Linked DNA regions of Homo sapiens: regions 1, 3, 4 and 5 are each linked to region 2. Evidence: promoter capture Hi-C in 16 types of primary human blood cells and fetal thymus (Javierre and others, 2016). All regions are on one chromosome and are shown on one strand. The core of a region is centred on a gene start or on the middle of the fragment in contact, and the rest is flanking DNA. Distances in the headings are between cores, read along the strand shown. Region 1 overlaps NAP1L1 (nucleosome assembly protein 1 like 1). Region 2 holds the start of RAB21 (RAB21, member RAS oncogene family). Region 3 holds the start of GLIPR1 (GLI pathogenesis related 1). Region 4 holds the start of OSBPL8 (oxysterol binding protein like 8). Region 5 holds the start of KRR1 (KRR1 small subunit processome component).

Region 1 (4,777 bases), core at 1,360-3,859, 4.3 Mb before region 2:
CTGGGGGATGGCAGTGTAGGGGGGCTGGGACTGAGGTCCCATCTGGGAAGGCTAGACTTTGAGAGTGCAAAAAGGATGAACCAGGCGCAGGATGTCCTCAAGGAGCCCGTATTTTAGACGGTCACTGATCAGTTTTGAAACAACTACATTTTAAAAATCTCACTGCTACATTTGAAGATATCCCACTGCTGCATTTTAAAATTTACACTGCTTGCCTGGTTTCACAAGAGCTGTAAAATGAAATTTGGCCTTTTGAAAATAGGTGGATTCAAAACATCTTTGGAAACGAGTATCTGGGTCCTCTTTTTTTGGTCAGCTTAAATTAATACTCCTATACTTTGGAAGTAATATACATTACCTTTGATTGAATAAGGGAAAAACCTTTTATGTATAGGGTACCATTTAAAAATCGAAGGGAAGTAAATGACTTTTACAGTTATTTTCAAGGCACTCTTGTGTTTCAAGCTTGTTTGAAGTTGCCCAAGTTTAAATAAATGGCCTAAATCTATAGTTTAGTTCTAAGAATACTGTCCTTTGGAGAATGTATGGAACTAAACCCTGGTAGGTGGACTTGGACATCTTCTGTCATAAAACCTGACTTTCATAGATTCTCCAAGTCAACATTATGTTAGTAAATAGAAATTTAAAAGTTTTCACTATACCAATTTGAATATCTTTCTAAATTTTATCTGCTACAAAGTGCCTATTTTTATATTAGGCCCATTGATTTGCAGAATTATAAAGCTAATACTGAATATGGTAAATTACTGCACTTGGCCTTTAATGAGATTTTTGAAACGAATACCTGTACCATAACTAATGTAATCCAAAATGCCATCTCATTTTATTCAGCTTGCTCCTGTTGGCTCCTGGTAAAACTGAGTTGATTCTAAATTCTCAAAATATATTCAAAACTAAGGGTCTTTTTGTAGAAGGGGCTAAAGAAGCAGTATCTGTTGGACTTCAAAGGTCTGAAGATGTCAAAATACAATATTTTATTCACTTCTTGGTTGTAAATTTGAAACAAAGGATTAGAGAGAATGACTCATCAATATCAAAATATTAATGATCAGTGTATTCAGATCTTCAAGTTTAATCAAACCTGTAATTGTGTTCTCAGTTTAGTCTTTGGGTAACTATCTAGCACCTGTATGGACATGTATCTTATGTCATGAGCAAAAGAGGCAAATTGGTTGCTTAGATGTAGAATGTTAAATTGTGATGAGAGCTATAAAGGAAGGAAAGGGTAAAGGGGTCAAAGAGTAATACAGCGTTTACACAAAGGAACCTGTTATAATTTGATGATTTTAAGTTCCATTTCAAACTAGTTTCATCTAAATAAGTTTTTGGGCAGAATAGGGGTTAGAAGGAGAGAGTTGTTACTTTACACCTATCCATATGTAAGTCGTTTAGCACAATGACTACAGAACATTAGAGTACATTAGTGGGCTTGCCATAGAAAATGGCTTCTATACCTTTGGTTACCAACTCTGCCTTTTACTTCCTGCATATTTGTATATATTTTTACTTATTCAGAAGTTTTGTACATTTTAATTTTTATTGGGAAACAGGGTTATATATATTTTTTCCTTGTGGAGACAGGCTCTTGCTGTGTTGCCCTGGCTGGTCTTAAATGCCTCACCTCAAGCGATTTTGCCTTGGCCTCCCAAAGTGCTGAGTGTATGGGTGTGAGCCACCACACCTGTCTAGAGTTATAATTTCAGTCTTGGAATTATTTTCTAAAGAGGGTACAGAAGAGCATAACAGGGATAAATAATGTAATAGGCAACACTGATTGATTATTCAGGCATTGTTTTAAATTCTGTGTGTATTATTAGCTCATTTAATTTACTTAGAGACAGGTAGCATCAACATTTTAACAAGGAAAAAAAATAGGTGTGGAGTGGTTAGATAACCCGTCCGTGGTTACGTACGTGAGCAGTGATAACTTATGATGAGATAATTTTTATCCTGGTTTTGAAAGAATGTTGACTTACACTGTTCTGCTATAAATCAGCATGAATATTAGTTCATTTTCTGTTGCTTAGAATACCTGAAACTGAGTAATTTATTTAAAAAAAAAGAATTTATTTCTTGCAGTTATAGAGGCTGAGAAATCCAAGATCGAGGGGACCCATGTGGTGAGAACCTTACTTGTGGAGACTCTGAAGGTTCCCAAGGCAGTACAGGGTATCACATGGGGAGGGGGCTGAGTGTGCTAACTGGGTAGCTTGGCTCTCCAGCTCCCCTGGTGGGAAACTGGGTAATTTATAAAGAAATACATTAATCCATGAATGGATTAATTCGTTTGTGAGGGTGGAGCCCTCATGATCCAATCACTTCTTAAAGACCCCCATCTCTCAGTGCTGCCACATAGGGGATTAAATTTCAACTTGAGTTTTAGAGGGGACAAATACTCAAACCATAGCAGCATGAAATTCAAAAGCACTCCACCTTGTATCCCACTGTGCTCTAGGGAAAAGCTGTATAGCAGTTATGGTCATGAAGTCTTCTTCCAGCATAGAATTTGTTTACATACACAGTCATGCATGGTTAATGATGGGGATGTGTTCTGGGGGAAATGCATCATTAAGCCATTTCATCCTTTTGTGAATGTCATAGAATGTATTTACACAAACCTAGATGGTACGGCCTAGTACATACCTGGGTTATATGGTATAGCCTGTTTGTTGTTCCTAGGCTACAAACCTGTATAGCATGTTGCTATGTTGAATACTGTAGGCAGTTTTAACTTTTTTAAAAATAAGTTGGAGTGTACTCTAACCACAAAAAGCATAGTATAGTAAATACATAAACCAATAAATCATTTATTGTCCTTATCAAGTATTATGTACTGTAAATAATTGTAAGTGCCATACTTTTATATGACTCTGCAGTAGGTTTGTTTATACCAGCATCACCACAAACATGAATAATGAATTGAGCTGTGACATTACTAGGCAATAGGAATGTTTCAGCTCCATTATAATCTTGTGGGATCACTGTTGTATATGCAGTCCTGTGTTGACTGAAACGTTATGTGACTGCAGTTGGGTAATGGTTTCTTAGCCTTATGTCAGCTCTATGTATCCAATTAGTTCAGTCAGTTGCCTCCCCTCTTCAGTGGAAGATTTTGTTTTTAGTTCAGTTTAGGAAGGAAGATTTCCTTTCAGGAGGCCAGGTGTGGTGGCTCACACCTGTAATCAATCACAGCACTTTGTGAGGCCAAGGCGGGAGCCCAGAATTTCCAGACCAGTCTAGGCGACATAGTGAGACACCCTGTCTTTACAAAAAAAATTAAAACAATATAGCTGAGTGTGGTGGAGAATGCATACCTGTAGTCCCAGCTACTCAGGAGGCTGAGGTGAGAGGATCACTTGAGCCTGTGAGGTCAAGGCTGCAGTGAGCTGTGATCACGCCACTGCACTATAGCCTGGGCAATAGAGCAAAGCCTTGTCTCCAAAAAAAAAAAAAAAATGCCTTCAAGCATGTTTTTAGGGTCAGTTATGTCTTTTGAGATCTTATACACACCATATATGTATGAACCTTTTATTATAAAGTGACCTTTTTATCTTAATGTTTTTCCTTGAAGTCTATTTTTTCCTGACATTAATACGTGATACCAACTCTGATTAGTGTTTTATTCTGAAACTGTCTTTTACATTACAGATTTTTTTTTAAGGAGGTATGTTGAAGTGCAGTGGCACGATCATAGCTCACTGTAACCTCAAACTCCTGGGTTCAAGTGATCTTCCTGCCTCAGTCTCCCGAGTAGCTAGGACTACAGCAGGCATGTTAATTTTTTGTAGAGATGATCTGTGTTGCCCAGGCTGGCCTTGAACTCCTGGCCTCAAGCGATCCTCCTGCCCCAGCCTTCCAAAGTGCTGAGACTATAGACGTGAGCTACCGCACATGGCCTCACCTTCATTCTTAAAAGATGTTTTGGTTGGGGATAGTATTTTAAGAGCCTTAGTTATTTTCAACATATTGAGGATTCTGTTGTCTTTTAGTGTCTTATTGAAGAGAAGACAGCTGTCAGTCTTTTTGTGCCTTTGAAGTTAATCTACCTTTTTTGTGTGTGCTTTTGAGATGAATTTGTTTTTGCTATCTTGCCTTTTTACTGATGTATCCGGAGCTGGATAAATATATGTGTGTGTGTGTGTGTGTATATATATATATGGATTCTTTATTTTATGGTTTTGATTTGTAGGGCTACTTGAATCTGTGGATTGGTGTCTTTCATCACTTAAGGAAATGGAAAATTATTGCGTATTAACTTCTTCAAATATTCTGTCCTCCTGCTCCCAGAACTTGTATGAAGTCTTTATTAGGCTTCATTGGATCTTAACATGTCTTTTCATTTCAGTATTTTCAGTCCTTTAGATTCTGTGGCTCTGCCATATTTTCAAAGTTTTCTTCTAGGCTTCATTTCAGCTCACTTAATTCTCTCTTCAGCTGTGTATCTTACTCTTAAGCCAGCCCATTTAGTTTGATTCATTAGTTTTATTTCTAGAAGTTCTAGTTTTCCAAATTTTGTTATATCACCTTTAATAGATGACTTCCTTGCAGACAGTGTGTTTTCAAACTTAGATCAAAGACAACCAGGCTTACTATGTCTGTAGGTATGTATTTGTTTATAGTCTGACAATTTTTAAGTCTTTGTGTAGGATTGATTTCTGTTATATTTTCTGTTTTTCCTGTTGGCTGTGAAAATTACTTGTATGAATTTTTTAAGGTCTAGAAGGAAGCTTTCATTTAATTTTGATATACAGGTGTC
Region 2 (4,872 bases), core at 898-3,397:
TCAAAATCTGAAGTCAGACAGGGGTTCAAATTTGAGCTTGGACACTCCTGCCCCATTGACTTGTGGTAATATTACTGCCAGCAAAATTACTCAACTAAACGTTTTTCCTCAGCTGTAGGGCTATCCACTAAACTATCCACTTCATAGGGTGTTATAAGAATTAAAGCAAGCAGACAGAAAGCAAGCAAAATAATCAGCACAGTAAGAACTCACTAAATGTTAGCTATTGTTACTACTTTACCTAAGTAAATCTCTAAACTTCCAAATGATCCTAGGTATTTGTCCAGTGAATTTTCTTGATCTAAAACACCAGGCTCTCACTAATGACACTGAACAATAACAATTCATTATTAAAATTTTGTCAGTGTTCTGGTACAAGGATTTTTTAAAAATGCAGTTTCCTGGCACTCACTTTTTCAGATATGCTTTACATACGAGTAAAATCAGAGGAGTAAAAATAGAACATGGAATCAGAGCCAGAGCGTCTTGTAAATTCTAGACTCAGTAGTTTAATAATAGCATCAAACATCCAATGTCACAACAATTAGGAGATTACGCATTCTATTAAGTAGTGTCGATGTTCTCACATACTACACATTTACTAATTAAGACCTATTGTGCAAGTTGGGGCGGTAATTAAAGGCAGACAACTTACACTGGACCAGGTCATCAGTGCTTTTTCTGTATATTTATCCTGACAACCCTATGAGCTAGATACTACTATTATGGCCATTTTAACAGAAGAAACAGGCACAGACAGGTTAAGTAACTTACCCAGTATGACACAGCTAGTTAAATGGATGGAGGTGAGACATGAACCTGGACAATCAGGCTCAAAAGTCCACTAGACTTTACTGCCTTTGACCAAATTGGTAAGTCAAATTAGTAGGATAAATTTCTCCTAATAACATCAAAACTGATTTCTCTGGGAGAGGTGGGGTGAGTACAACTCCCTCAAAGGCCTGGCTTCACTCTCAATCAATGATAACATTTTAACACCTTTCCAATGTACCTGTGGAAGAAAGCCGACCTTTTATTTTACAGGTAAAGAAACTGAGTAACAGCAGCGGCTTTTAGTCTGGGGACCAATTGTTGGCCAGTATTCACTTGATGTTTCAGCGTGGGTCAATCGACCTCGCAGAATATGAGTGACCCGCAAGTCAGACCCACGCAGGCTGCAATGAAACTGCGTAACACGCCTAGGCAAGCGGTCATTTCAAAAAACCTCCAGAGATGGCTCTTTTGCCATTCCTGTTACTCAGGACAAAATGGAACTTGCATAAACACTTAGTCATCAGTAAGCGCTGAAGTTACAAATCACCTAATTCGCAAAATCAAATACGCAGCTAAGTTCCTAATTCTGAAAGAAAGAAAAGGAGCTAACATTTGGAGACTGCAACACTGACACCTGGGACCCAGGAACTGCAGTAAATGGGAAAAAACAGCCCACGGACGGAGACCACAACGTGCGCAGCCACCACGGGGAACACTGGGGACTTTTCAGGGCCCTTCCACTTCCCTCCCAACAGCCTGTCCTCGCGTCTACAGGCTGCCCCGACCTGGTGATTCCCCAGGGCGAATTCGGAAAGGTAAACCGAAGGCGGAGATGACAGGCCTGAGATTTGCCAGCCTACATCCAGGGGACCAGGGCGGCAAAGTTTCCCCAGCCCCGGAGGGGTAGGGGCCCTGAGGCGCCCCCTCCCGCTCCCCGAGGTCCGCACCTGCAGAGTGGTGATGTGCTTGTCGTTAAACTTGTTCTCGCAGTAGCGCAGCACCAGCGACGTCTTCCCCACGCAGCCTTCCCCCAGCAGCACCACCTTGAACGAGTAGGCTCGGCCCGCCGCCGCCGCCCCGCCGCCGCCGCCGCCGGCCGCAGCCATCCCGTCGCTTCCCGGCCGCCCGAGCCCGAGTGTCGCGCCGCCCTCCCGACAGCCGCGGCAGCGCCTTCACAGCCACGGCCGGCTCAGCCCCCACCGCCCCGGCCCCGCCGACCCGGGCGCTGTCCCCACGCCCTCCTCGGGCGAGGCCTGGAAGGGCTGAGGGAAAGTCCGAGAATGAAGGGCCCCAGCCCACCACGTCAGGCACCGGAGGAAAAGCGAAGAACGATCCCTCTCTGCCTCCCTCTAATGGCGTCTCCTTCCTCCTACGTCACACCTCGGGTCACGTGAGCGCCGGTGCCGGGGCGGCCCCTGCGACTAGCCCCAGAAGAACGTGCCTGGACGTGGGCGGGGCTTCTGGGGCATCTCCCGGGGTGGAGCTGGATGTGAGTCGAGCGCCTACTGGCAATCTAGGGCAGAGCCCCGCCGCTTGCGAGCCACCTCTGCTTTTCAGTTGGTGGGAGCCAGCGGGAATAAGGAACCAGGAATTTGAGGCGAGCCCAGCTCTGGTGAAATGAAGGGCAGAACTTCATCGTTTTTGCATGTTCACAATGCTAATGATCTGTCACACCAGAGGTCACTGTAAACCATATCTGCCAAGGTGCCCTTGAATCTCTCTCTGTGGGATCCCGAATCATAGCGCTTCCAAGTTCCTCTGACCGCCTGGTCAACTACTCCATCATCTTTCAAGTCTCAGCTTAAACCGCGTCCCTGACCACCCAATCCTTCCCCCATCCTTCCATTCCCCCACCTCACAAAATTAGGTATTTCTTACCACCAGTATACCTCCTTTACTAGGGCTTTACACACTCCATGGATATTATTAATACTTTGCTAAGTGTTTATCGACTCTCATTAGACTATAGGTTTGTTGAGGGCAAGGTCTGTATAAGAGCTGCCCACCTTTGAATTCCTAACCCCAAGTGCTCTTCAGTTTTTCTGACTTTCATGAAGCCTCTGACGTTCCATGGTACTCCACCTTGAGGTGGCTTGTTCGATGATTGCTTGTTTTTTCTCATCTGCATCCCCATTCTTTTTTGTTTGTTTGTATTGTTAGTTTTGAGATGGAGTATCGCTCTGTCGCCCAGACTGGAGTGCAGTGGCGTGATCTCAGCTCACTGCAGTCTCTGCCTCCTGGTTCAAGTGATTCTCCTGCCTCAGCCTCCCGAGAAGCTGGGACCATAGGCGCCCACCACCGCGCCCCGCTACTTTTTGTATTTTTAGTGGAGACAGGGTTTCACCATGTTGGCCAGGCTGGTCTTGAACTCTGACCTCAAGTGATCCACCTGCCTCGGCCTCCCAAAGTGCTGGGATTATAGGTGTGAGCCACCACGCCCGGCCTGCCTCCAAGAAACCATACTCCTCCAAGAAATCATACTAATATTTCTGAAAATTTACTGGAAACCTGGTGTCAGGTAAACATTTTTTTAAAAATCAAACTTCTTTCACACTTCAAACCAGGTTAAAAAAAAAAAAAGAGGCCGGGCGTGGTGGCTCATGCCTGTAATCCCAGCACTTTGGGAGGCCGAGGCGGGCGGATCACAAGGTCAGGAGATCGAGACCATCCTGGCCAACATGGTGAAACCCCATCTCTACTAAAATACAAAAAATTAGCTGGGCATGGTGGCACAAGCCTATAATCCCAGCTACTCGGGAGACTGAGGCAGGGGAAGCGCTTGAACCCGGGAGGCAGAGGTGGCAGTGAGCCGAGATCGCGCCACTGCACTCTAGCCTGGCGACAGAGGAAGACTCCGTCTCAAAAAAAAAAAAAAAAAAAAAGAGAGTCGGTTAATTCATTCAACAAATATTTAAATGTGCCCACCATATGCCAGGCACTGTGATCAACAAGATAAAATGTCTCTGTCCTCACAGAGCTTACATTTTATCAGGGAAGACAGACATACTCAATTGTACAATAAATGCTTTCATCTTGATGAAACAGTTCAGAGTATCTTGCAAGCATATATGAGAACCCAACTGATTTAGCATGCTAGAGAAGCTTTCCCTGGAGAAAGTTATCTTTGGGTAAGAGTAACCTAGTCAGGAAGGACAGGAGAGCTCTGCAAACAGAGATAACAGCATGTTCAATGGCTTTAGATAGGAAGGAGCATCTAAAGTTGAGCAACTGTAAATGTGACTAGAATTTAGGGAGGAAAAAAAAACTCCAGAAGAGACCATGAGGAAGTTGGGGATCAATACTGAAAGGGTCTTTAAGCAAATGAAGGATTTTCGTAAGATGACTGACATAATCAGATTTGACCACTCTGGCTATCATTTGAAAAGTGAATTGGAGAAGGATAATATTTTAGATTTGTTTAGAACCAACCATTAAAGAGACTCTATGTTTTATAAAATATCCTCATGATTGTATCTAAAGATATATTTTCCAACTCTCTCCTCCACATTCCTCCCCTTAGGGTCTTTGCACATTTATAGACACTTCCAGAACTAGAAAAGAACTTCATTTTGAGAGAGCACCTTCCATTGTTCTTTCTGAGCACTTCCTCATATTGGATTGAAATCTGCCTCTCTTCACCTGCAATTAATTATTTCTGTTTATATTTATACATTATATATCGAATCCCTATTCCCTATAAACATATGAAGAAGGCTGTGTGTTCTTCCTTTAAGCCTTCTCCTTTCTTCTTTTTGATACAGCCAATCCTTTCAACAACTTTTCAAATTGTGTGCATTTGATTATTTAACAGCTTGGTCATCTTAGAAACTAAATGCATTACTTTGCATTTATCACTAAATCAAAGCAATTAAAAATTTTTTTATTGTAAAACAAAATAATTTTTTTGTGAGACAGGATCTCACTCTGCTGCCCAGGCTGGAGTACAGTGCCACAATCACAGCTCACTGCAACCTCAACCTCCTGGGCTCCAGCAATCCTCCCACCTCAGCCTCCCGAGTAGCTGGGACTGCAGGTGTGTGCCACCACACCTGGTTAATTTTTTAATTTTTTTTGTAGAGACGATATCTTGCGTGTCTT
Region 3 (5,177 bases), core at 249-2,748, 3.7 Mb before region 2:
TTCACACAACTAAACTTTTCAAGCATTATTTTCTGTTCTTGGAGGCTGTTCTATTTAACTCCCTTATATTTACAGGTATACTAGCATACTATACATTTTCTTAACTTCATAGTACAATTTTTCTCCTCATACTTGAAAAGACAGTTTCAAGATAATATAGGGCAGATCCTTACCTGAGTGTAGTGGCCACAGACTTTTTTGCATATCCGAGTCTTGAAGTCATAGTCCTGGATTTCGTCATACCAGTTTGTGATGGCGGAAGACACAGAAAAAATGGGCACAGACCCAGTCCAGATGTTCTCTCCCAGTGAAGTGAAGTTTGGGTGCAGCTTGTGGGGTGGCTTCAGCCGTGTATTATGTGAAAACTGGCAATTGCTGGCCCATGCTTTTGCAATTTGGGCTAGTGCTGGGTCCCAAGTCTGCAAAAATAAACATTAAACAATAGGGGGTTCATCTGAAATGTAACTGGGGTGAGTACAGTGGGAATTTGAATGGAAAACGAGGTGAGATAAGGAGAGAAGATACCACTGCATATGAGTCCTCTATAAATATGGTCTTCAAGCACTGAGTAGGGCTGGTAGGAAACGTGACAATTTAGTTTCATGGAATTTAGAATCTAAGTGAGGAAAACTGACATTTCACTGAAGGCTAATTGTGGGCAAAATAGTGTGTGCCGTGTTTCACAACATTATTCCATAACCACAACAGCCCATATCCTAAGAAGTTCAGAAAGGTTAAAAACCAGCTTAAAGCCACAGATCTGAAATTCAATCCCAAGCCTTACTGAATCAAAATCCCATCCTTTCCCCAGATGCCATTCTGCCTACCTGAGCAACTCAGTACTTTGTCAGCAGCAAAAAAAGTAAATTTAGAGACAAAAAAAAAAAAAAAAAAAGAAAACCAAATCACAAAAATTAACAGGGAGGAAGATAACAAAAAGAGAAGTAAAATCCACTGAAAACCAGAAAACAGGAAGTGTCCAAAGAGAAGTAAAATGTGCTGTGGCACTTGCTTATAACAACAGTTGGGTAGACAGAGCTAAACTGGATGTGTTTTGATCACAGACTGTGAATTTACTGCATACATTAATCACAATGAAAAAAAAATCATTCAGTATTACGAAGGTATTAACACCAAAGTCAATACACATTAGTTGTTTCTGACTGACTGACGCCACAATTAATGATATTTTCCTTACCATGTATAGCATATCACTGGCTGTTGGTTTCACCTCTGATCGGAACTTGTTATGGATTCGAACGCAGTCTTTGATGAAATCTTCATTTTCGATATCTGGCAAAATATTTGCTGTGTGTGAATAATTGGAGACAAAAGAAACCATCCAGGCTATTGTAGCAAGTGTGACACGCATGCTTTGTCTGGCATGGAGCCTTGGGAGGCTGCAGTCCAGAGCCGCCGCAGTTTCTGAGAGTGTGATTGCCTGAGTGCTCAGCCCACAGCTTTGCAAACCTAGCCGACTTCAGCTTTGAGAAAACAGAACAGAGCATGAGTTCATCACTAGTTTTAAGAAACGGGTTTCTCCATATATGGTGTGCAGCTCACTTTGTGTTCTTAACCCTGTCTTTTCAGTGGTTTTCAGTGACACAGCACCTATTACGACATAGATTTTTATGAGGCTGTGTCAGACTTCCTTTTGAATTGGGAGATATTTCCAAAGAAAATTCTGAAGTCTCCAGGAATAATAGTCTCCAATTTTTAATGGAGGTTGCGGTGATAAAATGAAAATATCTCTTACTTCTATAAATGCCTCGCAAAATGCTTTCAGAAATCTTTTTCTTTTTAGAGTCATATCAACACATAGTGGTTGGAATATCTGGTTAACATCATAAACTTGACCTAGAATTCATTCACGATGGTAGAAACATGTAAGCGTGTATGTGTGTGTGTGTGTGTGTGTGTGAGAGAGAGAGAGGGAGAGAAAGAGAGAGAGAGAGAAAGAGAGAGAGGGATTGAGAGGGAGAATAGTAGAAAGAATACAGGACTCAAGTTGAGAATTTAGTTTCTGTTTCTAACTAGCTGTAAGACCTTGGACAGGATACAAAACTCTCTAAACCTCAGCCACCTATTGAATGAGACTATGGGACCTTTTCTGCTTCCTTAATTACAGAGGTTTGGCAGGATCAAATGAACTAGCTAATATTAAATTCCTGCCTTGTATATTCACCTTAGTAATACAGAAATAAAAACACAGTCACTGGCCCCAAGGAGCTTACAGTGGTAAGAGCTGTGAGATGGTGATGACAAGGATGTTACAACAGGGGCTGTTGGAGATCTGGATATAGGAAAGCACAGGTAGATATGGACACACAAGAGAGCATACTTAACCCATTCTGGAAACGGCAGAGCCGGCCTACATACAGCAGGTGAGGTCTTTGCTGAGGCTAGAATCAGCTAGGTGTTGATCAAGTGAAAAAGCGCTGGAGAGGAGAAGGGAATTAGAGGGATAGGAACTATATATCTAGTTGTGAAATTGAAGACATGGTGTTATGGCAAGAATAGAGCAAGAACCTCTCCATATTGTCTCCCTCTGTAAATATGGTCTGTAAATAAGTAGTGATTCTGACTGGTAGAAAACTTGATACCTGGTGTCATGGAATTCAGAATCCAAATGATGCTTTCATGCCACTTGGGGGAGAGAAGTTAAGAGTCAGATCAGGAAGGATTTCTCAATTCTGCTAATGATTTTTTATTTTATCACCAAAGTCATGGGAAGTTATTGGAGGATTTTAGCTGTAGGTGGGGTTTAGACCTGGTTTTAGAAAACACGTGTATTTTAGAAAATTAAGAGAGATGGAAAATGGAATGAGGTGGGGAAATATTTCTAATGCAAACAAAAAGTAAAGAAACATTCCAGGCACACCTGTAGCCCCACCTACTCAGAAAGTTGAGGTGGGAGGATAGCTTGATCCCCACAATTTGAGGCTGTGAAGAGCTATAGTCAGGTCACTGCAATCCAGCCTGGGTGACAGAGCGAGGCCCCATCATTAAAAACAAACATACGGGCCAGGCGCGGTGGCTCACGCCTGTAATCCCAGCACTTTGGGAGGCTGAGGAGGGCGGATCATCTGAGGTCAGTTGTGCAAGGCCAGCCTGACCAACATGGTGAAACCCTGTCTCTACTAGAAATACCAAAATTAGCCTGGCATGGTGGCACATGCCTGTAATCCCAGCTACTTGCGAGGCTGAGGCAGGAGAATTGCTTGAACCTGGGAGGCGGAGTTGCAGTAAACTGAGATTGTCATTGCACTCTAGCCTAGGCAACAAGAGTGAAACTCCATCTCAAAAAAGCCCAACCAACCAACCAAACAAACAAAAACCATTACAGAACCATAAGGCAGAATTACTATTGCCACACACACACAAATAACCTTAAAAATACTCATACATAAATTCAAATTTTGTCCAGGCTGCCTAATTTCTACTAGCATGTCTTTACATTATAGGAATCTGAGATAAGCAGTGTCTTATCCAGGTCTCATAGGCAACTTTTTGATCAATGTAGTGACAATAAACAAAGAGACCTTTCTCCAGTTTGAAGTGGTAACCATGTCTAAGGCCTGCTTCTCATCTTCTTCTGGGTCTCTGTGAGCTAGACTGAGTTTTGAATACAACAACAAGAAAGAGGAAACCCCACGAGCAAGCAAAATCAGTGGTTTTTTTGGTTGCTTGCGTAATCCCTGTTATACACATACAACTCCCAAGAATGAGCAATGTTATCTTGGTCTTGAAATGATTTAATATTTTTTCTCTACTTTCCTGAAAATAATCAGCAAAAGGGAAAGTCTGCCGTCACAGAGATGATTTTTGTGTTATTGTGCAGACCAGGTTAGCTCCTTAGAGCTACAACTCTAAAACTTTTCAATTCACACTACACGTTTGCACCAAAAGTCCAGAGAAGTGGTTTGCCACAGAACAGGAACTTTTACTTGGAAGCAAATGTAAGCCTGCACTGCTTAGAAGGCTTTGAACTTTGCTATGACTTTTTCCACTTCTTAACCCAAGTCTTCACCATGATCTCTTTGATAATTATGCACGTGTGTTAAGACAGAGAGATTGGTTTTTAGTGCTCATCACTCATGGTAGCATTTTAAAAGATTTTTAACTTTCTTTTTAATTCTTCTCTGTATCGTTTAATTTTTTTACAGCAAGAACATGCTATCTTTCATAGTAATAAAATAAACTGCAATTATTTTGGAGAGTCATGGGATCTTTAAAATCATGCACAAATTCATACATATACATTGCCTGATAAACCCATGCATAGATAAAAGACTAAAGGAATATCCACAATTTCAGTATTGTGGGTAATACTGCATAATGGACTATGTCTCTCTATCCCCGCAAGCTTTACTCAAGTGTCTTATAAAAAGCAACAGTTTGTGTAGCTAGAGATAATCATTTATATTATGTGGAAAAATCTCAACCTTGCTATACTGTTCTAAATATATCAATTTATATATATGATGAGCTTTTTTATTTCTTGGGGAGAAATGATATAGAATTTTCTATAATCCCACACTTCCTGATTAGATTCCAAAAACATTTAGGCTCCAAAACCTCTAGCCACCTATTCTACTGGGGCTATGTGTTGGGTGTGGGGATAGACAAAGATAAAGGATTCAGAAAGAGGGAGGGGCTATATTTATTAAGCAAACATGTCACTGTTACATTGTTGTGTGATGATACTTTAATTTGGTATAAATTAGTTTTACGTATGTGACAATGTACAAGTTAACTGTAGTCCATATTCTAGAAGCAGTTAATTAGTGCTGAAGTACTCTAACCAAGAATCCACACTCCAAAGGTGATGGTTAACACTTCAGATATGGTTATGGAAATTGATACCTGAGAGTTTGTTAATTAGAACAGGGCATGTTAGAGAATCATTTTCACTGGCAAAATGAGTAATTTTCATGGTGAATGGCTTGTGGGGAGATTGAACACAGCCTCCTGCTATTGCATGAATGAAGTATAAAGAAGCAGACATCCTCAGATCTCTATTACTGCTGGTGTAGTGTTCAAGGGAATTGCCACCTCACAAGAGGTCCCCGTTTTCTGCCTTGACTTCAAGGCTGCTAGTCTTAACTTTAGAATGTCTGTTTAGTGAGCTTACCATTGGAGCGTCTAAGAGTAGAAAGCAGGAATGTTTCTGTAAT
Region 4 (4,956 bases), core at 886-3,385, 4.8 Mb before region 2:
GGTGTATTTTGCATATTATCTATGCTCTAGGAACATTCTTTTCCAAATCTATTTGATTGCAACTCACAGTAAGAAATTGTTTAAATCACAACATAGGACATACTCTCACCTTCCACCATATTTGAAACAAAAAGTTTCAGGAAGCAATTTTTGCCCTTACTAGACATTATGCACTCTGGTATTTTATATTGTATTACATCCTAGCCTATTTCATATAAAAATGAAATTGATTTTTGAGTTGCAGGTTGAAAAACATGCCTCTAGAAAACAGGAGACAAGTTAATCTGTTAACAAACTCCAAAGTTACTAGCTTTGCTGAAATAATGTCACAGAATAATAAACTTCCTTCACATTTATTTGTACTACAGTCTCTCAGGCTTCAGAACAGAACCTGGTAGAATCTTTTCCTCTTTGGAACACCAGTTCATGACAATATCTCAGAGATTCTAAGACTCGTTGTTTCCCAGTTCATGACAATATCTCAGAGATTCTAAGACTCGTTGTTTCCCAGTTCATGACAATATCTCAGAGATTCTAAGACTCGTTGTTTCTGACATGTTTACATCTCTGAATTCAAGATGTGTCTCAGGCCGGGCGCGGTGGCTCATGCCTGTAATCCCAGCATTTTGGGAGGTCGAGGCGGGTGAATCATTTGAGGTCACGAGTTCAACACCAGCCTTGCCAAAATGGTGAAACCTCCTCTCTACTAAAAATACAAAAATTAGCTGGGCATGGTGGCGCATGCCTGTAATCTCAGCTCCTTGGGAGGCTAAGGGAGGAGAATCGCTTGAACCGGGAGGCGGAAATTGCAGTGGGCCGAGATTGCGCCTCTGCACTCCAGTCTGGGAGACAGAGTGAGACCCTGTCTCAAAAAAAAAAGGAAAAAGATGTGGCTTAAAGGTGCCTTACATATCAGCGGTATGGCATAGTTTCATTGGCAGCCTTTGTTTTCTTTCTTGGGTAACATAAAACAATGTAAGTCTATGATTTTTTTAGAGCTGCTATGAAATATATTAATAATAATTATATAGGCCAAACTCTATTGCTTATTCATTTCAATGTATCCAGCTTATCAGAATGCCTTCTGATTTCTTGTTAAGAAAATGTAATGAGATGAGAATAGCTTAAGAAAAAAATCCTTAGTTCTGGGCTACAAGGGAAAATGAGTTATGACCCCAATTTAATTATTACAGAAAGCTTTCTCATTTGCCTTCATTGTGATCAGGGTTTGAGTATGATCTTTATTCTACCTCCCTTACTTCTGTATAGTTAGGATTTCATTAGGCGGCTAGAGGGTTCTTCGGATCATGGCTAAAAAAGAAAGCAAAAGGTTAAGTCCTAGAGTTAAGGAATTAGGAAAAAAAAATTAAGGCATTAGAAAAAAAATCAAGAATTAGGCTTTATTTTAAAAAATGGAACAAACTGTCAAATTCCTGCGTACCCGTTTAAACTGTCACCAACCTAACACACTGTAAAACTTAATGACTGTAAAACTGGCAGCAGGATCCTGAACATAACAAGGAACAAAAATAAGTTTGCTAGGCTGTTTTCATCCCAGCATGATTGAAATACACCGTTTCCTCAAAAAAAAAAAAACCTCTAATGAGGAAAGCAGTAAATTAAATGCCACGGTTAATGTGCCACTAGAAATAGGAACAAGTAGTTTAGTTACCGAATGCTTCTTAGGCCATACACTCTACACCACGATGCGTTCTTTTTTCTGTTTCGCTAAAGCTTTCACCAAGCCTAAGGCTGGAGAGGGGTCCTAACTGAGCCCTGACCAGACCAGGGAGCCCTACTGTGCAATCTCCTCAGGTTAGGAAGGGCCCAGTATGACCGGCCCAGAAGGCCTGGCCGATCAACAGGCGCTGGGCCGACGGTGGTGGGCTCGCTTCCTGAGGCTGCCCTTGGGCATGCGGAAGGGGACTGGCTGGCGATAACACCCTGGCGAAGCAAGGTGGACAGTGACTCCCGCCCGGTTCGAGCCCGCCTAGCAGGGGAAGCAACTCCACCACCGCCTCCGCGCACCGTCACGTGACGGGAAGAGGGCGTGGCCGAAGCCCGTGATCCGGGGGGCGGGCGGGGCAGGGGGAGGGCACTAGAATGTGAAGGATCTTCGCGGTTCTGGGTGCCCAGAAAGGCGGCGACGCGGCGGATGACAACATTAGGCCGCGACGCGCTCCTGGCCAGGCGGCGGCTGTAGTGTTAGCTTTGGACGCCGCAGTAGCCGCTGCCGGTAGCAAGCCGACTGAGGGAAGGTGGGGGTCCGCCCGGGCTGGTGGACCTCGGGGCCGAAAGTTCCCGCCCCGCTCGGGGGCTGAGCCGGCAGTGCCTCCGCGGCCGCTGGGCAGCGCCCTTCGTCCAGGCTCGCGCCCCAGCTGCCGCCGACGACAGCGGCCGAGAGAAGTTGGGGTCTGACTAGACGCTTACGGGGCCTCGGACCCCGGCGCCGCGGCGACCTCGGAGGAACCGGCTCCTTGCGTCCCGCCTCCCTGGGAGCTCCGCACGGGTGAGTGTTGCTCCATTCCTGAGGTTGGGGTGCTGGGTTCGCACCCCTCAGGGCGACTGCGCACCCTTATTGCCACGTTCTGAGCTCGGGCTGTCGGGGACTCCTGGCCACCCCCGCCGAGGAGTTCTTTGGCTCCTTTGTTCCCTTTTGGAGTAGGGGGATTGGAAAGGCTGGCAGGGTGGAGTGTTTAGGGGCCCACAGTAGGTGCATCTGCAGCCTTACAAAAGCCGCGGCAGGGGAACGGGGGTGGGAGGCTGTTGGAGCATTTCGACCGCCCCGGGTGTCTGTCCCTCCTGAAGTTTGATAGGTTGATGGCATGGGCCTCGTTGGGAGCCCCCGCGCCCAGGAGAGCTGGCGCTTTGTCGCTCGGTGCGGTTAAGGCGAGGCTCCTTCTTTCCTGTGACAGCCCCAGAGAAGGCTGTGCCGCGCACCGCAGACCGCACCCGCCTTTGCAGAGCCAAGCGACACGGTGTTGTTCCTCTAAGCCTCAGTTCTCCCGGCCTTCTTGTAACGTAGGAGGAAAGCCAAGCCTTTGCTGTGCTTTTAAATTTAATGTTTGTTTCTAAGCCCTCTCTCAAGAGTGGAATCAGGTTCCAAGGAGCTTCACAGGCAGCATGCTTTAGGTTCATTGAACCACCCACTCAAGACTGGCTGAGGCGAAGCAACAGTATATGCAGATTTTCCATTCACAAAAGTCATTTAACACTCTTCTTTATGAGACACATCTGCGTTGCAGAACGTAACCTAATTTCATTTTATTTAAATGCTTTCTGAAATAATAGGTAACTTGGACAACGTAAACAGATGGGTAAACTTTAACTGATAATGTAAGTATATATGCATTAAATAAAAAATTTAATGATGTTTTTGCCTTTCTGCTGCTAGAAGACTTAAATGACGTCTGAGTAGTAATACAGTGTCTCCTGCATGGCAGTTAAGTTTTTCCCAAAATTAGTGCTGCTTTTGAAATAATCCTTTAAAACAGTTTTTGCCTCCCTTCGTATCTAGAGAGAGCAAGAATTGTGGAGAATCGTGGGTGAATTGATTGTTAAATTTTGCTAATTTCCTAGAGTTTCATCTAAACTTGATTTTGCTGAGAGGCTATGATCAGTTTCTATGCTTGCTAGAACCTGTTTTGCAGTGAAATTATTAAGATCATGCTAGTTTTATAAAATAGGTTGGAATAGGAAAAGTAAGGCCATGCAATTTAAAACTGTTCTCTATAAAAGTACAACTAATTTCAAATGTTTGTTACTTTTATTTTTTTTTAATATTAACCGTGTATGGAGTGACTATAATATACCTGCTCAAAGGGCTGAGAAAGGAAATAGATGAAACTTAAGCTACCTTTTGGGTCTTTAATTATGGACATCAAGTTATTGCGGTCACATTCCATGTCAACCGTTTGAACAGCAATACCGTGTACACAGGTGCTTAGAAATGCCTGTTTAATTAAAAATGGCCATGGTTTATTTCTCTTTGATTGAATCATAATAGTTATTGAATCTCTGATCTGTGGAAAGATGCTACTGTATTTTCCTTAGAATGTTACTGCATTTTAAAGACAGTCAAATATGTTTTTTATAACACATTCAGGGTACTTATACATTTGTCAATATTCAGTTCCTTGGTTCATTTAAAAATTGGAAGCCTTAGAAAACACTTTGGGGATAAATTTACAATTGTGTATAATGAATTTATGTTTTAGTTTGCTTTAAGAAAAATGATGAAATTATGAATTTGTAAAATATGCATTACAAAAGGATTTTTTTTTTTTTTTTTTTTAAGACTGTCTCACTCTGTATCCCAGGCTGGAGTGCAGTGGTGCAACTTGGCTCACTGCAGCTTCTGCCACCTGGGTTCAAGAGATTCTTATGCTTCAGCCTCCTGAGTAGCTGGGATTACAGGTGCGTGCCACCATGCCAGGCTAATTTTTGTATTTTTATTAGAGATGGGGTTTCACCATGTTGGCCAGGCTGGTCTCCAACTCCTGGCCTCAAGATCCGCCCGCCTCAGCCTCCCAAAGTGCTGGGATTACAGTCATGAGCCACTGTGTCTGGCGGATCTTTTGTTTAAAAGTATGAATTGCAGAATTTTAACCAGTGTTAGTACATTTCAACTTGGCTTTGGTTTGTAAATAATCCTTCAAAAGTAGATTACTTGAATTAAGGCATTAAAGACAAAGAATTGATACAGTACATAGATCTAGTTTTCTAATATTAATTTGGAAAACTTTTATCCTAATATTATCCTAATAACAATGCCTGAAATGTCATGTTGTAATGTTTGTATTATATTGAAAGTTAAAAACATTTATAGCAATGTTCTTGGAGCATCAGGCAATTCAAAGAGGACATAGGTCCTGCCTTAATCTTACAAATAATGACCTGCAAATAAGACAGAAACACAACTTGAATAAAAAAGCCTTTGAGAGGCCAGGCCCGGTG
Region 5 (5,356 bases), core at 2,295-4,794, 3.8 Mb before region 2:
AGACAAGACAATGCTGCAATTCAAGTACAAGGGACTTCTGCTGCACAATTCTTCTTTCTCAGGGGAGGTCAATGTTTTTGTTCTATTCAGGTCTTCAACTGATTGGATGAGGACCACCCACAGTATATAGAGGACAATCTACCTTACTCAAAGTTCACTGATTTAAATGTTAATCTCATCTAAAAGTACTCTCACAGAAACATCCATAATAATGTAGGCCCAAATATCGGGACAATATTACCCAGTCAAGTTAACACTTAAAATTAACCATCACAAATATCTACTAATATATTTTCCGTTTTTCTTTTCTTTTTTTGAGATGGAGTCTTGCTCTGTCACCCAGGCTGGAGTGCAGTGGCATGATCTCGGCTCACTGCAACATCTGCTTCTTGGATTCAAGCGATTCTCCTGCCTCAGCCTCCCTAGTAGCTGGGACTACAGGTGCGTGCCACCATGCCCCGCTAATTTTTTGAATTTTTAATAGAGACGGGGTTTCACCGTGTTAGCCAGAATGGCCTCAATCTCCTGAACTCGTGATCCGCCCGCCTCGGCCTCCCAAAGTGCTGGGATTACAGGCGTAAGCCACTGCCCTCGGGCTTTCCTCATTTTTTGATTGAATTGCTTACATCTTTTTATCGCCTTGAATATTATTGTAATCAACCCATTAAATGTTTTGCGAATATTTTGCCCTCTTTTATATCCTTTATTTTTTTACCCTATTTCTCATCATTTTAAATTTTAAATTATTATTTTGAATACTTTATAATCAGTGAATCATTGAAATTGAGATGAAAATTTGGACACTGTCATTTTGATAATCACTTTTGAGTTTATAGTCTTCTAAGGTGATTTTAGGAGATTTTTCAATATTTATTTTCAATATGTATTCAATAAATATTTATAATTTTTAGTCATTATTCAATATTTATTTAAAATCAAATTGTTCTTTCAATTCTAATGAATTTTTGGAAGATGTTGAAATTAGATCTGCTCTTTTCCAAAGTAAGGAATCTAGAGCAAATAGTTCCCACATGTGGAAACTATTGTTAAGAGGTTTTAAAAGTTTAAACTACTCATATGTAATATTGGTTACAATGTTTAATTCTTAGAAGAACTAGTCGAATTAATTTCGGAATTTGTTTATTCCATACCACGTTTATTTTAAAATTTTTCTTCAAAATTGCTTAAAACATAGTCTAAGCAAATTGTTGAAACGTTGTTCTCATTCAATTTGACTGTCAATTTTAATTTTTAGTAAGTATATATATATGTGCTATTCCTGCTTGTCAAGCCAAAATATGAAAATTCAGTTAATGAGTAACAATATTTAAGCATCAGAGTCTGTTTTAAAACTGAAAAAAAAATGTATGTGTACTAAGGAAAAGCTTCAGCCTCTCAGTCTCATGCAATTTTCTATTCATTTAATTTTTATACATTACTTCTTATAACTACTAGCATCAAATTAGTATCTTGCTATATTTTATCTCATATTATCACAGAGGAAAAAGTACTGTATAATTATATATACCCTTCAGTATATGATTAATAGTCATTATAATTAATATTTTTAAATTAATTTGTGATTTTTGTTGCAGGATTCATTTTTTAGTAAAAGCTTTTATATCCTATATGTAAGATAACTCCCTATTCCTGTGATATAACTTGTGTTAGATTATGGGTTCTGGAAGGCAAGTAACAGACTTAAAAAAATTCACTTAACTTCCAATCATATATTGTTTTTATATTGTATATTCAGTTGGTGGACAACATGAGGGCTTTTGAGTTAGGGAAGGGAAAGAATCACTTAATACTGAAATAACTTATTGTAGGAGCCTGATGAATCTTTTCCTTTGGAAAGCAGACAGTTTTAGTGTGGTGTCATCTATAATAGGAGGTCTTGAGGACGTTAGAGAATCTTAGAACTCAATTATTATCCATGTTTTTACACCCCTTTCAGTAATGATTTGGAAAAAGATGTAAAAATTTCAAAAAGGGACAGGTGAACTGTGGGCTCTGCATAGTATGGTAATTAAAAGGTTGGGTTTTACAAACAGACTCAATAGTGCCAAGAAAAGGATGGGTGGGTTTTCGTTTTCCCATCTCCATCATATTCTCAATATTCCTCAAATAATAGCAATACTAAGATTAAAAATATACACGTAAATGGGAAGAAAAGCCTATGTAGAAAATTTTGCTATAAAATAAAGGGCTTTAACACAAATATTATTTCTAGACTATTCCCTCCCCTTAATCCCTATCAGCCCTCTAACACATTTGAAGCTCCTAATGAATAGTAGCCCCCTGAAGCTGCTAGGTCAAACTGCCTGAACTTGAAGACGGGCCTTCCACTTATTAGTGATTGAGTTACTTAAAATAAGAATGATAAAAACCTGCTTCATGAGGTGTACTCCTCACTTTATAACTTTCACCTGCTGCTATCTGTTCTATTTTAGGAATTTATCATTTTTTGAGGAAATTAAAAGAACAGAGATAAAATCCCTGTCATTTATAAAACTCACAGGATAAAAACAAAAAACCCCTCTGTCGTGGGTTCTTCTGTCCATATGTAACAATCTGTTTCATACCTGGATCTCATATATGAAAACCTAAATTATTGTATAAGATACACGAGAGTGGATTTATCAGACAAACGTGTATTTCACTAATGCAAGGAATTTAACCTATCAAAGACTTTCCCTATTTGCTGCAGAAAATTTTAGAAATGCAAGCAATAAAATCAAAATTTAAAAAAATCTTATATTTGGCATGTCGAAGAACTCTTATACTTCCAAAAGTGTAGTTATTTGTAGTTAGTGATGAACCTCTCTACACATCTTAGCCCTATGTAATGTTGGGGGTAGAAAAGGAGTTTAGAGATTTTGAGAAATCTTAGGCTAGTTGAAATACTTCAGAAACGTCAGGATGTTGAATTACCATCCCTCTGACTTAGAGAAATACCAACACTCGGGAAGATTACCATCAGAAACAACTTTGAAAAGTTTAATTTTGTCACTGTTTTTAAAATTAGAAATAATGTAAATAAAGTACTGAAACAAAGTAGTCTCACAATAAATAGTAGCTATTCCTGTCACTTGTTGCAGTGGAGGCCCAATATACATTGTATTCTCATATTTGTACTTCCTCCCAACATCTAGCGCATATTTGGCCAACATATAAATATTTATCGAAAGAATGAATGACATCAATGACAGGTTGGTAGCACTCCGCTGTCCGATGGTCCAGGTTAGGCCGTGAGGCCACGAGGAAACTACGGATAAAACAGTATCCAATTTGCCTATACCGCCTGCTAAACTACAAGTCCCAGTACGCAAACTCCATGGTTTCAGGGCATACTGGGAGAAAGTCTCCGGCTCTTCATTGGCCACGTAGGAGAAGCTGTGGTTTGTGTAAAAGCGCGGGCTTAACGCACGTACGCACGGAGACTGCGCAGATCTCCTCGTCTGAGTTCCGCGGAACTCATTTTGAGTGTAGGCGTTTTAGCCGGTAGGGTTTAAGAACAGTTTCATTTCCGGAGCCACCGGAAGCAGCTTGCAAATGGCGTCTCCCTCGCTGGAGCGGCCAGAAAAAGGCGCTGGAAAAAGTGAATTTCGTAACCAGAAGCCGAAGCCGGAGAACCAAGGTGATGTTATGTGGGAACCGAAGCCTGGGGTTTGTGTACGTTGAGTTGCGATGTTTTTTTCTTTCGTTCCTCGTGGACTTATAAAACCACCTGGAGCCTGTACTGTGTAGTTGAGTACCTGAATAATCGCTGATAAGATTTTGGCTGGGCCCACAGGAACGGCTGGCCGATATGGTGCCACCCAGGTGTTCCTAATTCATTGCTTTTGCTAAAGGGTCCCCAAAGCGAAGCTGTTGCGGATTACGTCTTTTGTAAAAGGATGAGTATTAAGAAAATGCCTAGGGCGACGCAGAACCTTGTAAGCCTGCGGGTGGCTGAAAGTCACTGACGGAATGAGGAATAGGGTGAGGTGGGAATAGGTAGTCATGATATACAAGAGTGGACCCTGATAATGGGGTGAGGTATGGGGAAAGGAGCTATCCGACATGTCCTTAGCTCTAGTTTGTCAGTAAAGACATTTTGAAAGATTATCAATTCCTGTTTGTCAGATGCTAAAATATTAGACGACACAGCCCTTACTGTTTAGGTTGTGTTACCTTTTAATTGTTAACTCCTGCGTTGTAGTCTGGTTTTACCCGTTTTCTTCAGTGTGAATGATAGAGAAGTCATAAATAGCCTGGGGATCTGTTCAACCAGGCTTATAGGAAGTGTTAAAAACATTGAACTCTCAATTTAGATGCATTGGGAAAGTATTCAAAGTTTCTTTGTTGTTGCTCATTAAATGATTATGTAACGTACATAGCAGGGGATACAACTTATATAGAGTTTAATAAAACCATGCGGGAAACTAGCATTCAGACTAAGTAAAATAGAGCATTACCATACCCCTCAAACCCTTACGTGCACCTCTCAGATCATATTCTCTTTTCCTGTATCAGACGTAACCACCCTGAATTGTGTTGCATTCTGTTCCTCTTCTTGTAGTCATGAAGTGGCTTAATTTAGCCTGTTTTTTAATTTTATATACATGAAAGTGGACCGTATGCATTTTTCTGTGTCTTCTTAGATTTAGCTTTTTGTTTTTCAAACAGGGTGATACTTGCGGGTGTAGTTTTAGTCTTTTCACTGTTATGTGGTGTTTCCTTGTATGAATATACCCCAATTTATTTTTTCATTTTACTATCGGTGGACATTTGGATTGTTCCCAATTGCTTGCAATTATAAACAATACTGCTAAAACATCTTTGTACATGTCTTCTGGTTAACATGTTCAAGGGTTTCTCTAGGTTGTGAACATAGGATTGGAATCACTGAAGTGTAGGGTGTGTGTAAGTAATGCTAACTTTTTTCCAAAGTGCTAGTGTCAGTTTTGTTCCCACTAGGAGTGGACGAAAGTTGTCATTGCCTTACATTAGTATGAATACATGTTATCTGAATTTTGAATTTCTGTCATTTTGGTAGTTATGAAATGGTATTTGGTTGCAGTTTTAGTTTGCATTTTCTGATCACCTATGAGGTTGCATATCTTTTCACATGTTTTGAGGCTTCCTTAATTGTGAAACTCCTGAGTATTTCTTTTGTCAGTTTTTTTCCTGAGGTTGTAGTGGGGATTTTAAAAAAAATTATCCATAGCCTTTGAAGTGTTTAAATTGGATAGGGACTTCGTCAGGTAAACATTGTAAGTAACTAGTTGCAGTGACTCACACCTGTAATCCCAGCACTTTGGCAAGCTGAGGAGGGGGGATTGCTTGAGCCCAGGAGACCAGTCTGGTCAAC

Evidence for each region. Contacts are between HindIII fragments. The CHiCAGO score rates a contact against its expected background, and 5 or more counts as called.
Region 1: a fragment that was not itself captured here is called in contact with the fragment with the promoter of RAB21 in region 2 in 1 of 17 cell types (activated CD4 T cells); the score reaches 8.3 in activated CD4 T cells.
Region 3: the fragment with the promoter of GLIPR1 here is called in contact with the fragment with the promoter of RAB21 in region 2 in 1 of 17 cell types (naive B cells); the score reaches 5.3 in naive B cells.
Region 4: the fragment with the promoter of OSBPL8 here is called in contact with the fragment with the promoter of RAB21 in region 2 in 2 of 17 cell types (activated CD4 T cells and naive CD8 T cells); the score reaches 5.5 in activated CD4 T cells.
Region 5: the fragment with the promoter of KRR1 here is called in contact with the fragment with the promoter of RAB21 in region 2 in 1 of 17 cell types (non-activated CD4 T cells); the score reaches 7.1 in non-activated CD4 T cells.

The regions. Positions count from the first base shown.
Region 1 is chr12:76,078,385-76,083,161 of GRCh38, reverse strand. The region is part of intron 1 of NAP1L1 (nucleosome assembly protein 1 like 1); the gene reads left to right. Among named protein-coding and RNA genes, the nearest start is that of NAP1L1, 3.9 kb to the left of the region's middle. The HindIII fragment of the contact is 4,283 bases long and covers 468-4,750 here.
Region 2 is chr12:71,752,138-71,757,009 of GRCh38, reverse strand. It overlaps RAB21 (RAB21, member RAS oncogene family), which reads right to left and starts at 2,147. Exons shown (of 7, transcript NM_014999.4): 1 at 1,722-2,147. The coding sequence starts at 1,880. RefSeq lists enhancers at 1,256-1,445, 2,086-2,375 and a silencer at 1,826-2,105. The HindIII fragment of the contact is 5,965 bases long and covers 1-3,878 here.
Region 3 is chr12:75,477,076-75,482,252 of GRCh38, reverse strand. It overlaps GLIPR1 (GLI pathogenesis related 1), which reads right to left and starts at 1,498. Exons shown (of 6, transcript NM_006851.3): 1 at 1,199-1,498; 2 at 174-419. The coding sequence starts at 1,372. The HindIII fragment of the contact is 5,495 bases long and covers 1-4,368 here.
Region 4 is chr12:76,556,950-76,561,905 of GRCh38, reverse strand. It overlaps OSBPL8 (oxysterol binding protein like 8), which reads left to right and starts at 2,135. Exons shown (of 24, transcript NM_020841.5): 1 at 2,135-2,509. It overlaps LOC105369850 (a long non-coding RNA gene), which reads right to left and starts at 2,004. Exons shown (of 4, transcript NR_188081.1): 1 at 1,673-2,004. RefSeq lists a silencer at 2,305-2,494 and an enhancer at 2,905-3,214. The HindIII fragment of the contact is 3,809 bases long and covers 1,737-4,956 here.
Region 5 is chr12:75,509,797-75,515,152 of GRCh38, reverse strand. It overlaps KRR1 (KRR1 small subunit processome component), which reads left to right and starts at 3,544. Exons shown (of 10, transcript NM_007043.7): 1 at 3,544-3,640. The coding sequence starts at 3,556. RefSeq lists enhancers at 3,577-3,736, 3,243-3,786, 3,787-4,331. The HindIII fragment of the contact is 5,214 bases long and covers 1,618-5,356 here.